2 separate regions of the Homo sapiens genome follow, and region 1 is linked to region 2. Evidence: promoter capture Hi-C in human tissues and cell types (Jung and others, 2019). All regions are on one chromosome and are shown on one strand. The core of a region is centred on a gene start or on the middle of the fragment in contact, and the rest is flanking DNA. Distances in the headings are between cores, read along the strand shown.

The links. The method cuts DNA at HindIII sites, captures the fragments that hold promoters and counts their contacts. A contact is called where the count stands out against the background at its distance.
Region 1: a contact is called between a fragment that was not itself captured here and the fragment with the promoter of PTGER3 in region 2, in 1 of the 25 tissues and cell types used here (hippocampus).

The regions. Positions count from the first base shown.
Region 1 is chr1:70,455,306-70,461,449 of GRCh38, reverse strand. It overlaps LOC105378793 (a long non-coding RNA gene), which reads right to left. Exons shown (of 3, transcript XR_947499.2): 2 at 3,151-3,319; 3 at 1-49. Among named protein-coding and RNA genes, the nearest start is that of CTH, 47 kb to the right of the region's middle. RefSeq lists an enhancer at 835-1,641 and a silencer at 2,357-2,557. The HindIII fragment of the contact is 9,520 bases long and covers 1-6,144 here.
Region 2 is chr1:71,044,972-71,051,987 of GRCh38, reverse strand. PTGER3 (prostaglandin E receptor 3) reads left to right here and starts at 4,172. Exons shown (of 4, transcript NM_198719.2): 1 at 4,172-5,307. The coding sequence starts at 4,411. ZRANB2-AS1 (ZRANB2 antisense RNA 1) reads right to left here and starts at 5,482. Exons shown (of 3, transcript NR_038420.1): 1 at 4,399-5,482; 2 at 3,000-3,174. RefSeq lists an enhancer at 4,175-4,758. The HindIII fragment of the contact is 12,323 bases long and covers 1,422-7,016 here.

The DNA of each region.
Region 1 (6,144 bases), core at 2,995-5,494, 590 kb after region 2:
CAAGCTGCCAGTGGATCTACCATTCTGGGGTCTGGAGGATGGTGGCCCTCTATGGGGAAAAGAAAGAGAGATCAGACTGTTACTCTGTCTGTGTAGAAAGAAGTAGACATAAGAGACTCCATTTTGTTCTGTACTAAGAAAAATTCTTCTGCCTTGAGATGGTATTAATCTGTAACCCTACCCCCAACCCTGTGCTCCCTGAAACATGTGCTGTGCCAACTCAGGGTTAAATGGATTAAGGGCTGTGCAGGATGTGCTTTGTTAAACAAATGCTTGAAGGCAGCATGCTCGTTAAGGGTCATCACCACTCCCTAATCTCAAGTACCCAGAGACACAATACACTGCGGAAGGCCACAAGGACCTCTGCCTAGGAAAGCCAGGTATTGTCCAAGGTTTCTCCCCATGTGATAGTCTGAAATATGGCTTCATGAGAAGGGAAAGACCTGACCATCCCCCAGCCCGACACCCGTAAAGGGTCTGTGCTGAGGAGGATTAGTAAAAGAGGAAGGAAGGCCTCTTTGCAGTTGAGATAAGAGGAAGGCATCTGTCTCCTGCTCATCCCTGGGCAATGGAATGTCTCGGTGTAAAGCCCGATTGTATATTCCATCTACCGAGATAGGGGAAAACTGCCTTAGGGCTGGAGGTGGGACATGCTGGCAGCAATACTGCTCTTTAAGGCATTGAGATATTTATGTATATGCACATCAAAAGCACAGCACTTTTTTCTTTACCTTGTTTATGATACAGAGACATTTGTTCACATGTTTTCCTGCTGACCTTCTCTCCACTATTACCCTATTGTCCTGCCACATCCCCCTCTCCGAGAAACGCCCGATAATGATCAATAAGTACTAAGGGAACTCAGAGACTGGTGCCGGCGTGGGTCCTCCGTATGCCGAGCACCGGTTCCCTGGGCCCATTTTTCTTTCTCTATACTTTGTCTCTGTGTCTCTTTCTTTTCTTAAGTCTCTCATTCCACCCGACGAGAAACTCCCACAAGTGTGGAGGGGCAGGCCACCCCTTCAGCCCTCTTCTCACAGCTCCAAGAGGCAGTGCCCCAGTGAGAACTCTGTGGGGCCACCAACCTCACATTTTCCCTCTGCACTTCCCTAGTAGAGGTTCTCCATGAGGGCTCTACCCCTGCAGCAGTCTTCTGCCTAAACATCCAGGCTTTCCCATACATTTCAGATACATCCTCTGAAATCTAGGCAGAGGCTCCCAAGCCTCAACTCTTGTACTCTGTGCATCAGCCAGCTTAATACCATGAGGAAACCAGCCAGGCTAATCACTTGCATTCTCTGAAGCAGCAGACAAGCTATATCTGGGCCTCTTGGAGCCATGGCTGAAGCTGGAGAGGCCAGGATGCAGGGAGCTATGTCCCAAGGCTGCACAGAGGAGCAGGGCCCTGAGCCTGGCTCATGAAGCCATTCTCCTCTCCTAGGCCTCCAGGCCTGTGATAAGTCATGAGTCATCTAATGTGGTTTTAGGAAGTACAATCTTGGTCAGGCATGGTGGCTCACTCCTCTAATCCCAACACTTTGGGAGACCAAGGCAAAAGGATCACTTGAGCTCAGGAGTTCAAGACGAGCCTGGGCAACATAGCAAATCCTCGTACCTACTAAAAAAAAAATAATTAAAAAAAATAGCCAAGCATGATGGCACACACCAGTAGTCCCGGCTACTCAGGAGTCTGAGGTGGGAGGATCCCTTGAACCTGGGAGATCAAGGCTGCAGTGAGCTATGATTACACCACTGTACATCAACCTGGTTACAGACTGACAGCCTGTCTCGACAAACAGTAAAAATCTCAGGAAAAAAAACAAAAAGGCTCTAAAAAGGAAAGAAGTTATTCAAGCAGCCATAAGAAGATTCCTGAGATTAGAAAGGTAAAAGTTAATTATAATGGGCAGGATATCACCAAAGAAATAAATTATATTTCACAAATGTTTATTGATAAACTGAACTTACATTTCAATTTGCACCTGGTGTCTTAGTATAACTACTAACTGCATACCTTTTTGTTCCCAGAAGTGTCTCACTTTGGATAATGAATTATGTGGGGACACCCTACCATGTGCCAGGTGTACTAAGCAGTAACAGAAAATGAATATAAAAATTATTTACATTAATGATTTAATATTGGGGTATTGAGTCAAAAAAAGGCATGTGTCTTGCCATCAGAAAAGTGCTTCATTTCATTACAGAGGCAAGAAGAATATGTCTGAAAGAATCTGAAAGCAATAAAACGCTTTTTCTAGTTTAAAGTCAGTGTTAGGTAGAGCAAATAAACTGCAGGAAAAAAAAAAAAAAAACAGGAAAGGGGAGAGGGCAGAATGAACTAGAGGAATTAGGAAAAGCAGATAGACACATCTGCAAATTGATACCCAGAACCTAAGCTTGAATCCCTTTGTCATTGAGTGGAAAATGGGTGCATACAAACATGACTGACTACAAGCTAGTGATCTTTAGTCTGCCGCTCTGGCAGCAAGGTAACCAAGACTACATCCCTCAAAGGAGTCTTAATTTTTTAACCAGTTTCTTCAGAAGATATTTCTTAGAAGATCAGATATTGCCTTCATATGAAATATTCCCCAAGACTTTTTTCCCATCTCTTTCAGACCATCAATGTAACATATTTGGAATTTTATTTATTTATTTCTCTAAGAACATTTTAACTTCCAGAGAAGGGCAAGTTTGGGTGTCTGCAAAACTAAACTGTAGGACCACTTTGCTCTCAACACCCTTTCCATGTTGAGAGGAGCTTCTGGCCCTTGCTCTCTGCTTTATTTTTCAGCATTTTTCAACAATCGCCTGCTGCACAACAGCATACTAAGTTCAGTTTGCCCCAAGTGCAATAAGGGTTTTAAACTGTGCTAGTTTTCTAAAAAGTAATTCATTTTTAACAGGTCTTATTTCTGAGTAAACCCACAGAAGAGCAGTTATGGGCAAATAAAAGCAGATTTTATTTAACATTCTGTGAAATCTGGCAGCCTGGGAAGAAGATGCATGCTGGGCCTGGCACAGAACTCCACAGTCAGTTTCCATAGGGAAAGAAGATGAATAACCCAATGCAGTCAACCCCTCTGTGAGCACAGAAGTAATGAACAAAAGATTCATTTCATGTGGGTGCTTCACACACTTTCTACTGACCTCATGCAGCAACTTCAAAGGACTTCTCTGTTCAGAGTAATTATCTGCAATTTGCAGAGTAGCACACAGTCTTCTCACAGATTGTACACTTCCCTTCAGACCCCAAGCTGGCTGGATGTGAACATGACAACACTTCATTTCTAGACCAGAAACAGCTTCCTGATCCAGCCTACAAAAAAGGAAGGAAAATATTTTAAATTAAAGTCTTTCCAAAGAGCTATGTCCTTGGTGTTGGCATGCTACTCACCGTGATCCAAGAGCCCAGGTAAGTACAACTTGAAATTAAAAGAAAGCCCTAATGATCAGATCACTAAAATACGATCCTTTTATAAGAGCAGCTCATATATTAACAAATCAATCCTAATGTTTTATAATATAGAATAAACTGAAAACTGGTGGTATGAATTGAGTTATTTTTGTCATACCCAAGTGAATCGGAATGGAGGAACCAGGGGAAAAAGCACTCAGGGTACATAGCACCTGCTTCAAGAATTCTCCTGCAAGCTCAGCTGCTGAAATGGCCTGTGCAATGTAAGACCATTTTTACCTAGCAGCTACCTAAATGACCTGCCATGACTCTAAGGTTAGTTTTTCCTACTGCCATCATTCACCAGAGCTTGCCAGCTCCCAGAAACTTCACTACTGCCAGTAAGCTCCTTACAAAACAATATGTAACATGTATCTTTCTAATAAAACACTCAACCTTCTCTTTGTTCTTCAGATATACTAAAAACCACACCAGGCTGTTTGTATACCACAAATTGCAACTCTATTTTCTCAAATTAAACCTTTTGTGTATAGATTTGTCTCTACATTTTTATTTGACTTTGACAAAACTAACTGATGAAATAGTAACTTTCTATCACATAAGTTTTTTTAAAACAGCAATATTTTTAACAAACCACTTGATTCTTCATGTAATCAATTTCTGTCTATAAAACAAAATATGATTCACATTTTTTTCAAGGCAATAAGATGTTTCTTCTGTCTTTTTTTTTTTTTATGAGATGATGTCTCACTGTGTTACTCAGGCTTGTCTCGAACCCCAGGGCTCAAGTGGTTGTCCCACCTCATCCTCCCAAAGTGCTGGGATTACAGATATGAGCCACCATGACAAGCTGGAAAATGTCTTAAAAAAAAAAGATAAAATATATAAGGACTTCTAGGATCCTCTCTAGTCATAATATGCTATCTGTTATATAGGAATTTTGATCATTTAGTATATCTTGTTGATATGGTTTGGTTGTGTCCCCACCCAAATCTCATCTTGCATTGTAGCTCCCATAATTCCTGTAGGTCATGGGAAGGGCCTGGTGGGAGACAAATGAATCACGGCGGCAGGTCTTTCCAAAGCTGTTCTCATGATAGTGAATAAGTCTCATGAGATCTGATGGTTTTATAAATGGGAGTTCCCCTACACAAGCTCTCTTGCCTGCCACCATGTAAGATGTGACTTTACTTCTCCTTTGCCATTTGCCATGATTTGTGAAGCCTCCCCAGCCATATGGAACTGTGAGTCCATTAAACCTCTTTCCTTTATAAATTACCCAGTCTTGGGAATGTCTTTATTAGCAGTATAAGAACAGACTAATACACCTGTTAAATGGTATGAAAAGTGTATGGTGGCTCTTAACCACTGTGAATTGACTTTCCTAGTATTTTTAGTTTTTACTTTTAATTATCCAATGTATCTTTATATCTAAATTCTAAGGATAATTGTTAAATTTCTACCACCATCTATTTTAGGTAGAACTGACTTGAAACTAAGCAAAACAAAAAATTATACACAGAACTTTTCCTCAATAGATTGTTTTAATTAGTACTAATTTTTGTTTGTTTGTTCGAGATGCAGTCTCGCTGTGTCACCCAGGCTGGAGTGCGGTGGCGTGATCTCAGCTCACTGCTAGCATGATCTTGGCTCACTGCAACCTCCACCTCCCAGGTTCAAGTGATTCTTCTGCTTCAGCCTCCCAAGTAGCTGGGACTACAGGCATGCACCACCACACCTGGCTAATTTTTTAATTAATACTGATTTTTAATCAGAGTATTATGTTTACAAAATTTTTTTAGGTTTATGCAGAGCTAAAAGGCTTACCACAATAACAAAATAATAGCTCCAAGTTCTACTTGCCTGCCAACCTTGTTGTCCTACTTGCAGTTTTAACATTTCTTTAATATTACTTTTAAAACTCTAAATGGTATGTGTGTATCACTATCTCTCAATTCATCACATTTTAGTTATTTACTAACTTTCCAATATGGTAAATTATTTCACTCACCATCTTCCCCTTCTTCTATTCCTCCCAATATAATTCTTTCTCTCCTTCTCTTTCTGTCTCATTTAAAGCCAAACACAGAAGTTTCATTCTTATAATTATGTAAATATTCATCACTGTTGAGTCAAGTGGAGTGTCATGACTACATTTACTTTCTTGTACAAATTTTTTTCATTTACTTTATTTCCCACACACTCCAACACTTTCTATAAAATGCCTTGCATGGCCAGGTGCAGTGGCTCACACCTGTAATCCCAGCATTTTGGGAGACTGAGGCGGGAGGATTATGTGAGCCCAGGAGTTTGACACCAGCCTGGGCAATGAAGTGAGACCCTGTCTCATTTACATATGTATATAGAAAGAACTACAGTCTTGAGGAAACCAACTCAAGACCAATATGTTCTGTGATGTAGATTTCCTAGAGACGTAGTTGTTGTTAACTACAGAAAGAACCCCATGAAGATAAATAGGGGTAGAGACATAAAAATTGGAAGATAACCAGAATAAAGCCATCTGGTAGTGATATTGCCAAACGTCATCTAGACAATAATTGGACATCTGTTTAATGACCTCTGAGAGCTCCAGGGAATGTTTCTTTTCTGCTACTAAAGAAGGATGTCACTAATCACATTGCAAGTAGCCCTGAGTATGTCCAGAGGAAGGATTTTCTAGTTAAGCAGAAAGTTTTTTGAGCTTTCACATTAAATTAGGCTTATAT
Region 2 (7,016 bases), core at 2,923-5,422:
AGAACCAGAGAAGAAATGAGATAGAACTACCCAAATTCATGTCTCACAGCAAACTCTGCATGAGTGAAGGAGACCACATGAAGCCTGAGGAAAAAGCAAGCAAAGACCAGATAGAAATCTAGTCCCAGCACTTTGGGAGGTCAAAGTGGGAGGATCATGATGTTAGGAAATCGAGACCATCCTGGCTAACATGGTGAAACCCTGTCTCTACTAAAAATACAAAAAATTAGCCAGGCGTGGTGGTGGGCGCCTGTAGTCCCAGCTACTTGGGAGGCTGAGGCAGGAGAATGGCGAGAATCTGGGAAGCGGCGCTTGCAGTGAGCCAAGATTGCACCACTGCATCCAACCTGGATGACAGAGTGAGACTCCGTCTAAAAAAAAAAAAAAAAAAAAAAAAAAACAAAACACACACAAAAACCATTATTCAAGAATACATCTACTTTGATTACTTTGATGCTTTACTTAAGGGGATGTATTCCTCCCTGTGCTGTGTGTACTTTGGGTGGGAGAAAGCTGAAGCTTCAGAAACTTTAAATGTCAGGGAATAGCCCTAAGCTGGCAGAGTAGCTGCAAATAAGAGGAGAATCCCTAGAATCAAGGAACCCACACAGAAGGTGATCTCCATTGCTAACTGACCAGCAAATTACACAGGCATAGGGAAATCAATCTCTAGGAAGCCAAGCTAAAAGAGCATGGAAAACCATGAGAATGAAGCAGAGATACCAAGAGCAGCATGCCCCATGGGAGGCAATATTGGCAGTTTGAATCCGGACAAGTTAACTGTCAAACAGAGCAAACAAACATAAAATAGATAATACTCAGGGAAAAAAACCCGGTAGACTCCAGAGTCATTACAATATATTACAATGTCCAGTTTTCAATTAAAAAAAACAGGCATGTAAAGAATAGGAAGAAAAGACAGCAGAAAAGGCATTCATAGAAAGGGACTCTTTGATCTAGCAAAGACTTCTAGGCATTGCTTTTATTTTGATACAGTAATTACATTGATTGATGTTTAAATGTTAAGTCTACATTGCACTGTACTTCCATGACAATCATTCTGAGAAGACAAAAGCCATGGGATCAGTGTTTCTCCTGTTATTTGGCACTTAGAATCAGTAATTTTGCACTAAAATATAAACCCCATGAATATAGGCACTGTTATGTATTGCTTTTGTATCCCTAATGACTGAAACAGTGTCTGACATAGATTGGGTGCTCAATGAATGGTTATTGAATGAATGAATGACTAAAATATAAACTAAAATTACTGGTTGGCTCCATGAAGAAAGACTTTCAGATATTTTCCATCCATAGTGAGGCAATCAAAGGCTGATCATGTGACTCATTATTAATCTTATTTTGTATCCATATTTAAGATTTTTAAATAGATGTTTAATAGAAGTAAATAGCAAAATAAATTCATCATCACTAGCTAAATATTGACATACATTATACATTTTAAGCTGTAGGGTACAATTAAGTAATCTGTGAATTTAAAACATGTCCAGGTTAGAATTTCATTGAAAACATAATAGGTGAATATATACTTTAAATTAAAAAAAAATGAATATCTGGTCTTTCAGTTTAATCCTCTACTGGTTTATTGACTGTTAAACAAAGTTGCCAATTTGTAACCTCAAAGGAAAACAAAGTGACCACAATTATGTACTGATAAGTAGATCTCTAGGAAAGAAATCAGAGATTCCCTAAGCAAAGCATCCATTGGCCCTATGGAAATTCTCTTTAAAACAGCATAAAGCATGTTATTAGCCTTTTGGTCACTAGAGGGTGGTGTTGTTTCAGACCAACACAATTCACACTATATCCGTAGTAACTGACCAGAAAGTACCAACCAGAATCCAACTGCCAGCTTCACACTGTTACTCCACAAAACCTCACAGTCACTTGTTTACAAGGTGAATAGCTAAAGGCAGACAATATAGGATGAAGCAAAGTGCTGAAAGAAGAGAAATACCCAAATTATCTGAAATGCAACACATTTTGTTCATTGGCATAGAGGTTAGTGAGAGGCTAACAATTCTTTACTAATACATGCCCCGACGCTTACCATGCTTATCAAGTCCAATTGGCTACAGCAAGCACTTCAGTGGGAGAAGTAAAAGTTTCAAAGAAGTCAAATATTTGTGAATAAAAATGAGAATAGTTTTTGATGTAACTGGAAAAAGATAAGCCTTGCTTCCTTTGCTGTGTGAATGGTGATATGGTCTTAAATTTTAAATATTGAATTACACTAGAATTTTACTAACTATAGATGGTATAAACTTGATAGCCACTTTCATCCAAATGCTTTGGATAAAGCTTTGTCTAAGAATAACCTCAAATATTATTTTATTTTCAAATGATATTAGGCTAGAAAAATACTATCCCAAATACAGGTTTGAGATTAATTCAAAATAATAAGACAAAAGTTTACGGAAGATTTTAGAATCAAACCATTTCACCCTTCCTAGCTGTTGTTCCCATTGTAAACGTGACATTTTAGTCAGTAAAACGCAAAAGTGCAAAACATTTTTAAATGACAGCAAAACACAAAATGAAATTCATGTTGTGATTAATGCATCTTATTAAAATGGAGTTTAAGTTGCATTCTTGCTTTTCCTTCTTTAAAAAACATATAATGTTATAGTGATATTTTTTCAAACTCTCATACAGAATCAAGACAACAGCACATAAAGTATGCAGAGGGACATATCCCATTCTTACCTCTTAACAGTAATTTAAAAGTTAAGAACACCCATACAGAACATCAGCTAAGCTAGGAAAGGCAAAACTGATTGGGCTTGTTCTGAAAGTTGATCTGTGTCAATCAAAATAATGGTCTTTAGAGTGCTATATGATTAAGTCTAATTTCTTAAATATGAGGAAAAATGAACTTTGCAATTATTTTTAAAAATCTTTTCATCTCTTAGACAGTGTAAAAAGGCAAAAAGCAAAAAACACAAGACTTTCCCAAGATTAGGGGAAGATGATCTCACCGTTAATATTCATCTGCTGAGAGCAGTTATGGGACCCATGTCAGGAATACATGCTTCAAATAAGATGGGACTTGAGAATTGCTGAGAGACTTCAGGAACATTCTTTAACTTCATGGGGCCTCAGTTACCCCACCTTTAAGGGAAATAATAATAGCAATAGTACCTTGGAGGATTTCTGTGATAAAATGAGAAAATGCTTGTGAGAAGTACATAAAATATTGGCTTACTGAAAGATGTTACGAGGCAAGCAAGTATGCCTATTTTCATTCAATGTTTATTATTTCAAAGGCAAAGTTTCCATATAGATTAAGGCCTTCATAACATCTGAATACCTTTTCTAGTTCTTATTGTATGAAGATAAGAAGGATGGTTGGAGGCTTTGTAAGGAATACCTTTCTCTTCTGCTCCCCTCTCACTCCCATAGGCTGGGAGCAGTTGATTTCACTACCTCAGATATGCAAATTGATGCCACCTTCCTGTAGCCACTTTTGCCATAGCTGACCTTTTTGTTGGGTGGTGGGGAGGGGAGCGGGCAGGATTAGGCGAGGGGTAGTAGTTGGGATTTCTTGGTCTTGGAATTCAACCATCCGATGTATTTGTTTCCCTGTGTCTATTCCCTTAAGTCTACAGGCACTGTCTAGTAATTTTATAGTTTTCAGCGGCACCCCAGGGGACAGGACACCTTGGCCTTTTTATAATCACTCTAGAGTCACAAAGCAGAAAGGAAAAAAGTTAACGATCAGCTATGCAAAGGCTTGTGTGGATTGCTTAAGGACAGGCGATTTTCACTTTACCAGAGTTACTAAAGGACTTCAGGAGAAGGATCCCGTCCCTGTAGGAGCGTTTGTGGTTGAAGAAGCAGGAGGACGAGCGCTCAGGTGCGCCTCGGCAGTTTGCCTGGGGTCCGCAAGTCCAGTGCTACTTATTAGCTGCTTGCCGTCCACCGACACTTTAGCGGAGAACTGGAGGAGACCCCAGTGGGCTCCCGGTCCGGCCAGGAGCAGGGCGTTTCAGAGGAGACCGTCTGGGGCTTCCCAACCCAGGCGATCAGGATAGGCAACAGCCAAGAGAGGCGCTCAGTTGCTTTGCACCCTCCTCCCACCTCGGTTCTGTCCACACCCACGGGCGCCCCGCCCCCTCGGCCTTATAAAGGGGACTCGGCACCTCCGCGCGCCTCGCCACCAGAGGTTTCCCAGAGAGGAAGGCGTGGCTCCCTCCCGGGCCAGTGAGCCCTGGCGCCGCCGCGGCCGCGGTCCCAGCAGCGGAGTAGGGCGGCGGCTGCGCCCCGCACCATGGGGGGCAGCCCAGCCCCAGCCGCGGTAAACGCCGACCTCCGCCGCCGCCCGCGCCGCGTCTGCCCCCTCCCGCTGCGGCTCTCTGGACGCCATCCCCTCCTCACCTCGAAGCCAACATGAAGGAGACCCGGGGCTACGGAGGGGATGCCCCCTTCTGCACCCGCCTCAACCACTCCTACACAGGCATGTGGGCGCCCGAGCGTTCCGCCGAGGCGCGGGGCAACCTCACGCGCCCTCCAGGGTCTGGCGAGGATTGCGGATCGGTGTCCGTGGCCTTCCCGATCACCATGCTGCTCACTGGTTTCGTGGGCAACGCACTGGCCATGCTGCTCGTGTCGCGCAGCTACCGGCGCCGGGAGAGCAAGCGCAAGAAGTCCTTCCTGCTGTGCATCGGCTGGCTGGCGCTCACCGACCTGGTCGGGCAGCTTCTCACCACCCCGGTCGTCATCGTCGTGTACCTGTCCAAGCAGCGTTGGGAGCACATCGACCCGTCGGGGCGGCTCTGCACCTTTTTCGGGCTGACCATGACTGTTTTCGGGCTCTCCTCGTTGTTCATCGCCAGCGCCATGGCCGTCGAGCGGGCGCTGGCCATCAGGGCGCCGCACTGGTATGCGAGCCACATGAAGACGCGTGCCACCCGCGCTGTGCTGCTCGGCGTGTGGCTGGCCGTGCTCGCCTTCGCCCTGCTGCCGGTGCTGGGCGTGGGCCAGTACACCGTCCAGTGGCCCGGGACGTGGTGCTTCATCAGCACCGGGCGAGGGGGCAACGGGACTAGCTCTTCGCATAACTGGGGCAACCTTTTCTTCGCCTCTGCCTTTGCCTTCCTGGGGCTCTTGGCGCTGACAGTCACCTTTTCCTGCAACCTGGCCACCATTAAGGCCCTGGTGTCCCGCTGCCGGGCCAAGGCCACGGCATCTCAGTCCAGTGCCCAGTGGGGCCGCATCACGACCGAGACGGCCATTCAGCTTATGGGGATCATGTGCGTGCTGTCGGTCTGCTGGTCTCCGCTCCTGGTAGGTAGTTCCAGGGTTGGGGGAAGTCAGGATGCGTGTGCGAGTAAGCGGGAACCTAAGACTTTGCTAAGTGGCAGCACCCGCAGGGGTGTGTTTGCAACCGCAGAGCGCTGAAGTGTCCTTTCCTCCTGCCCGCGCGGTCTTGGTTACAGCTTCAGAGCTGAGCTCCTCACTTACTAGCTGAGCGCCTTCCAAGAGCCAGGATTCGCATTAGGCACTGTTTATGAGCACATAGAGATCACAGGGCTGCTCACATTCTAGTCGGGTAGGAGACAGGATGTGTCATTGAAATGACATATATGCAGAGCTAGAAGTTTGTCCTGAGTGCATTAAAAGCAGAATTGCTATGATAACTGTAGCCTGATATTGTGGGGTTTTTTTTTTTTTTTTTTTTTGAGACGGAGTCTCGCTCTGTCACCCAGGCTGGAGTACAGTGGCGCAGCCTCGGCTCACTGCAAGCTCCGCCTCCCGGGTTCACGCCATTCTCCTGCCTCAGCCTCTCCGAGTAGCTGGGACTACAGGCGCCCGCCACCACGCCCGGCTAATTTTTTTTTTTTATTTTTAGTAGAGACGGGGTTTCACCGTGGTCTCGATCTCCTGACCTCGTGATCCACCCGCCTCGGCCTCCCAAAGTGCTGGGATTACAAGCGTGAGCCACCGCGCCCGGCCGGGTTTTTTTTTTTTAATTTCAAATTCCTCTTTCACGTTAATAAGATTTTCAGTCTGCAACCCCATACAGTCACAGCCCTCCTGCAGCTTCTGAAAGACTGCGCGACCTATGGGTGCCTTCAAGGTTCATTCTTGATGAGGCAGGAGAATGAAAGATACGAGTTGCCTCCTCAGCCTTTCGCCATGGTGCTTGACCCTCTAGGAAGTGCCCGAACGACAGTCAGTGGGATCCGGAAGCTCAGCAGCTTCTTCAGGCCAGCATTTACTTACCCTTGTAGCACTCAAGCAGGGTTCGCTAATCCTGAGATAGGAGGTAGAGGTTTCTCCATGTCCTAGCTCCTCACACCAGAGCAATGCAGAGGAGCAAGGGATGTTTGCAGAGGCTCTTTGCCTAACACCTGCCCTTACGTGATATTTTTGAGGTTTTTTTGTCTGTGTTACTTTTAGCTAGAAATGTCCGTGTGTAAGTGCTGTTTACTAATTCCTGAAGAATGGATGCTTACTTAGGCCCTGGGGTGTCTGGGTTAATAGATGTTGCAGAAAGAGCGATATGGTCACTGTTACAAAGGTATAACCAACTATATGTATTATACAGTTGTGGAAAACCTTTGAAACACGTGAACGCAGTTTTTTTTCTTTCCTAATTATGGTAAAATATATTACATACAATTCAGTATTTTAACCATTATTATGTGTACAGTTCAGTGGCATTAGGCATTAAGTACGTTGAGTTTTTTGTGCGCCATGTATACTTTTAAATCCCTTGCATTTGAAAATAGAAATGTAATTTCTTTAACCTGGTTTGGTAGATTGGAGCACAAACCTTGGCTCCAAATCAGTGACATGAGGGGACAAGGAGTGTTATGCTGAGACCTAACTGCCCACAAGTCGCTGTATGGTCACAGTTCTTTATTCCAGGAGTTGGAACTCAGGCTGATGTCATCACTATGGCTTATCAAAACCAGCACCAGTTTTAGATATACAGTATTTACTTTTATGGCTGAGGAATGGAGTGTACAGGTGGCCAACTAGGAAGGAAG